2 separate regions of the Homo sapiens genome follow, and region 2 is linked to region 1. The links are contacts of gene promoters, found by promoter capture Hi-C in blood cells and fetal thymus (Javierre and others, 2016). All regions are on one chromosome and are shown on one strand. The core of a region is centred on a gene start or on the middle of the fragment in contact, and the rest is flanking DNA. Distances in the headings are between cores, read along the strand shown.

Region 1 (2,702 bases), core at 93-2,592:
CTGAAACGTTGGAATTGGTTTCCAGGAAACGAGGGACGGCTGTTCTGAGGTTTCCTTGGACTCCTCTGGGATCCCTGTTGTGAATATCAAAGGAGTACTGCTGGTGAGGGGGAGCGGGGGCTTCAGAGAGAGTGGGAAGACTGAGCAAGCTAAGTGGAGTTCATTTGGTATAAATCAGAGGCTGTCATTTCAGATTTCATGACTCTACATATCCAGTTATAAATAACGTTCCTAGGTGTTAGTAGGACAAATAGGAAGTGGGACAGAAGTCTTAAATTTGGGGGATCTTCATAGGGAAGGTCAGGTCCTGAAAGGGTCGCATAGAGGGGAGAGGACCCATTCTCTTCTTGCCGGCAAGTAGAAAACAAAGCCCAGCCCAGCTTTTCTCTCCAGAGAATGTTGTGGTGGGAGAGGGAAAAGAAGGTGGAGGTCCCGGAGGAATTGCACATGGGGCCAAAATGTGACTATGAAAGAAGAGTGGGCTTTTGATAATACCATTAAGAAAATCACGCAAGAAAGAAAAAAAGATGGTTAGGAATTACCCCTATGTGGCAGCATCTGCCCTGCAGAATGAGAAGGTTTGCAAATAGACTTCCCAAACCCCAACCACAGCTCGCTCCGCCTCGAGGACCCCTTTTCTGCACCCCCACCTCAGCGCCCTCTTCCTGCACCCACAAAGAGAGTACTCAGTCATAGGGGTTCAACAGGAGAGAGGAGACAGAAGGTACAGGCGGTGAGCAGGGACTCAGCCATCATCCCCCTCAGGTCCCTCCCCACCCAGTTGACAGAGCGAATCCCGAGTAATTGTTTTCCGAGGGGGTCCGTGCGCGCTCGGTGGCGCCGCCTCGGTCTGGGTTCCCCCGAGGAAAAATACCCACCCGCGAGGGCTCGGCGGCTTTTCGACTCGGCGGGGATGAACTGTGGCAACTTCGGCAGCCCCCACCGCGGTGCGGAAGTAAAGAGGGCAACATTGGCGACTGCGGCTCGGAGGGGCTGGAGCGCGTGAAGCCGTGGGGGCGCCGTGCGCCTCCCGCTCTCTCGTTTCGGCCGCAGGTCCTGGGACTCCGACTTCGGTGCTCCGGGTGATAGCGGCTGCGGCGCCTGCAGTCCAGATCCTCGCAGTTCTGCGGGCGAAGGAGGCGAACGGAATCGGCCCCCAGTGGGGAGCGCAACAAGCCACAGTAGCCAAACCCCGCGCTCCTGCCCGGGCTCCCAGACGAACGCAGCCGCAGCGGGGGGCCGGGCCCCGAGCCCCACGCCGCCGCCGCCGCGCCAGCGGTGGGGGGCGGGCTGGGGGCGGGGCGGCCGGGGCTGCCTTCCCGGGCGCATATGCGAGCGCAGCACCCGGCGCTGCCGAGCCACCTCCCCCGCCGCCCGCTAGCAAGTTTGGCGGCTCCAAGCCAGGCGCGCCTCAGGATCCAGGCTCATTTGCTTCCACCTAGCTTCGGTGCCCCCTGCTAGGCGGGGACCCTCGAGAGCGATGCCGATGGATTTGATTTTAGTTGTGTGGTTCTGTGTGTGCACTGCCAGGACAGGTAAGCATGACTGTGGCGGTTAGAGGGATCCGGGAAATGGGGGTGCCCACAGACCACGGCGGCGTGGGGAGACCTGGAGCCGAGCTTTGCGCTGGTCTGGGGAACGGCGGTAGCGTGGACCGGTTCCTGGGATCTCTTTGCCCTGCTCGGAGTGACAGGGTGAAAATAGGGACTCACGGGCTTGAAGATGTCCCCGTTGAGTGCCCCTTCTCAGGGGACCCGGCCTCAGGGGCGCAGGAGTGAGGGGCGCGGCCGAGTAGGCGCACCCTCTTGCTGCTAGTAACCGGCTTTCCGTCCCAGGGAGTCGAAACCCGCAGCAGGGCGGGCCCGCGTGCCCCGAGTTCCCGAACTTGTAAGGTGCTGTGGAAACCACTCTCGCCGACCCCCGCCAGGCTGGGAAGGGGTAGCTGCGGGAGTCGCACCCGCAGAGGGAGCGCTTCCGGCTGGCGGGCGCGGCCGGGGCCCGGGAGGGCGCGGTGCGGCGAGGGCAGAGAGCTGCGGGAGAACCCTGGGATCCCGCGATCTCCTCCTGTGCCTTCCTGACTACCCAGGAGAACTCCAGGAGTATTCTCCTCCGCCTGTCTTTGCTCCCAAGGGCTGGGCGAACAATTATCTGAGGGAAATAGAGCAGTGGAGACAATCTGGGGAAATTTTCTCAAGCTCAAACCAGTTTTCTCTTGCCATAATCGCAGGGTTCCGTGTGGGGAGGGGGGAGCAAGGATGACGCTTGATTGTCTGAAGTCCCCACTTCGTTCTGCCTCCGGAGACGCAGTTGTGAGGACTCTCAGCGCATCTTCTTCCTTCTGCTTCCACCGGCTCCCTTGCCCAAAAGTCCCCTGGGGTTCGGAGACTGGCTTGCAGCCGCCTTCTTCAAAGAGCTAGTAGTAGATGCGGGGAGACTGGGGTGAGGTGAGGTGGGGTGAGATGTAGGAAATTGGCAAAAATAGGGCCTGTCAACTGGGGGGAGTGTCGGAGGTTTGCAATCCTACCCAGCCATCCTCCGTACGCGCTGCACCCCAGAATCTGTGTGGTCATTCCCTTTCCCTTTATTCTCCCCCCTTTACCATCCTTATTTCCTTCTTTAGAGGCGTGGCCTTCTCTCTAGGCCAAAGAGCAAGTTCATCTGGAGAGGGCTAAGAAGGGGCGTCTGCACTTGGTTGGCTCAAA
Region 2 (2,702 bases), core at 123-2,622, 1.5 Mb after region 1:
TCAGATCAACCCTACAACTTCAGTAAATGGTCATCCAACTGGGGTTGCAATGCTTTGTTGCAAAGTGCTTCATTCCATTGGTGAACAACTCTGATGCAATTCCTTCTTCTTTCCCACCCTCTCTCCTCTCTCCCTCTCTTCCTACTTCCTTCTTTTTTTTTCTTTTCTTTATTCCACAACTTATTAAATGCTAAAATGTGGCAAGTTCTGTGTTAGGTCTGTGGATACATTAATCAACAATGCTATAGTATGAAAGTTTGTATCCCCTCACCCCACAAATTGAATATATGTTGAAACCTAACCTCCATGGTGATGGTATTAAGAGCTAGGGCCTTGGCTGGGCGCGGTGGCTCACAGCCATAATCCCAATGCGTTGGGAGGCCAAGGAGGGTAGATCACTTGAGGTCAGGAGTTTAAGACCACCCTGGCTAACATGGAGAAGCTCGTCTCTACTAAACGTACGAAAATTAGCCTGGCGTGGTGGTGCATGCCTGTAATCCCAGCTACTTGGAAGGCGGAGGCAGGAGAAACGCTTGAACCTGGGAAGCAGAGGTTGCGGTAAGCTGAGATAGCACCACTATGCTGCAGTCTAGGCAATAGAGTAAGTGGTACTCCACCTGAAAAGAAAAAAAAGATCTAGTGCCTATTGCAGAGTGATTGGGTCAAAAGGACAGAGCCCTTGTAAATGGGATTAGTAGCTTTATAAAATAAGCCCAAGGGAATTTATTCCCCCTTTCCACCATGTAAGGACACAGCAAGAATGTACCGTCTATGAACCAGAAAGCTGACCCTCACCAGACACCAACAGAAATAAGTGTCTATTGTTCATAGGCTACCTGGTTTATGGTATTTTGTAACGGTAGCCTGAATGGACTAAAACAAACAAGATTCAGTTCTTGACTTCAAGTAGCTCGCAGTCTATATTGAGGTACTGTAAAGTAAGCAGGCAATATAGGATGAAAGTGCCAAGACAAAGATAAGCTCAGGTAAACTGGATGCAGAAATCAGTAAATACTTACTGGAAACCTATTGGATCTTTTGCACTGTGCTTGGAGCTAGGGGGCTTACAAGACAATTTGTACTTAAAATAAGGCAAAACTTGCCTCTTTGTCACTTTGTTACATTAGGTTTAGTTCTGCCCTCAAAAAACATGCAGAATGATTCTAGTCTTTTTGCTATGTTCAAAAGTTTTGTCAAAGAATGGTTTTTCTTATTTTCTTGGCAAGCACTAAAGGGCAAAGCCAGATAGTCTATAATTATTCCCTCGATGAGGGATACATCTTTAAAATGTTCCTATTATGGGAAAATACAAGGGAAAATTTATTTGGAATTTTCCACCTTTGTTAATTTCAATTGTGAAGACAAAGCACAAAATGTTGTAGTCCTTCAGTTTCCCAGAAAATGTTCTACAAACAGTGGTATTGTTAAGTCATCCTCAACATTGACATAAAAGTCAGTACTCAGATTAGCATTCCAGATAGCACTTGCATTTCAGATGGTAAAAAATGCCAAGGTCCTTAGACAACCAAGGTTATCAAAGATCCATTTTTTCCTGATGGCATACAATAGAGACTTTTGGTTTTCCTTCATTTTTTCCCCTTTGTAAAAATTTTTCAATGAATAATAGGGAATTTAGAATTTGATGTATAAACTATTAAGTGTGAATTAACTGGATAAACTTTTTCTTGTGAATCAAGAATTCTATTCCCACTTCTGTCACTAATTTGCCATGTGACCTTGGGAAAGTCACTTCATTATTCCAACTGCCTATTGATAAGATAAACCTAATATTCCCTATTACCACTTTCATTTCTAACGTTCTATGATTTTGAAATAATTTTATTGAAGAAGTAGCTAAGAAATGTGAGAATCACACAAAAACTGTGTCTATAATTCTTATCCACATCCCCCTTCCACCAGTAAATCTAAGAAATCTTGTATTTACCTCGTATAATATTTGATATTAAGTTGATAAGTCAAAGGGTGAGTGTGGTTCAGACAAAACTTAAAATAATTGAGTATCTCCCAAGCACCAAGCAATATGCTACATCCTTGACATATGTGTGTTCATTCAATCTTGGAATCACTAATTGTCTATGCTTTTGTCAAGTTTTTCCAACCCTATCATTATTGTGTTGTTGAATTAGAGGATAGGGACAAATAATTGTTGAGCTATCACTATGAGCCAAGAAATATTTTAAGCATTTTACAAGCATTGGTGCAGTATTTGGTACATTTTAAAGGTTCACCAAATGTTTCTCAAATAAATTAATTTATAAGTAAGTTAAAAATGATTTCTCAGTAATTATATCATATGACAACTGTATGATTTCTTGTGTTTGTGGCCTACTATTTTTGCCTTGAACCAGTCTAGTTTTTACTAGGTTTTATTTGCTTATCTAGGAGAGCGGAGAAATGCCTCATAAAGTGTTTGTTAGGATCAAGTGGGATTTAAAAACAAAAATTTGTTCGATTAATATGAAATTAGTATAGACTTACATAGTTACAGTGTATTCTCATACTTAACACGGCTTTATAAATTCCAGAAATTATAGCAATAAAGAAGAATCCAGAGATGGAGGTTGAGGAGGGTAGGCTGCCCTTGAAAACCATTCATACCGTATCATCATCAATATTGCCATTGTCATAATTCCTTTTTATTCTTTCGTTAAAATGATTTTTTTTTTTTTAACACAGAGTCT

Evidence for each region. Contacts are between HindIII fragments. The CHiCAGO score rates a contact against its expected background, and 5 or more counts as called.
Region 2: a contact is called between a fragment that was not itself captured here and the fragment with the promoter of NELL1 in region 1, in 2 of 17 cell types (endothelial precursors and monocytes). The highest score is 7.5, in endothelial precursors.

Annotation. Positions count from the first base shown.
Region 1 is chr11:20,668,244-20,670,945 of GRCh38, forward strand. It overlaps NELL1 (neural EGFL like 1), which reads left to right and starts at 1,343. Exons shown (of 20, transcript NM_006157.5): 1 at 1,343-1,535. The coding sequence starts at 1,481. The HindIII fragment of the contact is 10,998 bases long and covers 1-2,702 here.
Region 2 is chr11:22,139,309-22,142,010 of GRCh38, forward strand. All of the region lies in intron 1 of LOC124902645 (a long non-coding RNA gene), which reads right to left. Among named protein-coding and RNA genes, the nearest start is that of ANO5, 52 kb to the right of the region's middle. The HindIII fragment of the contact is 4,574 bases long and covers 1-2,702 here.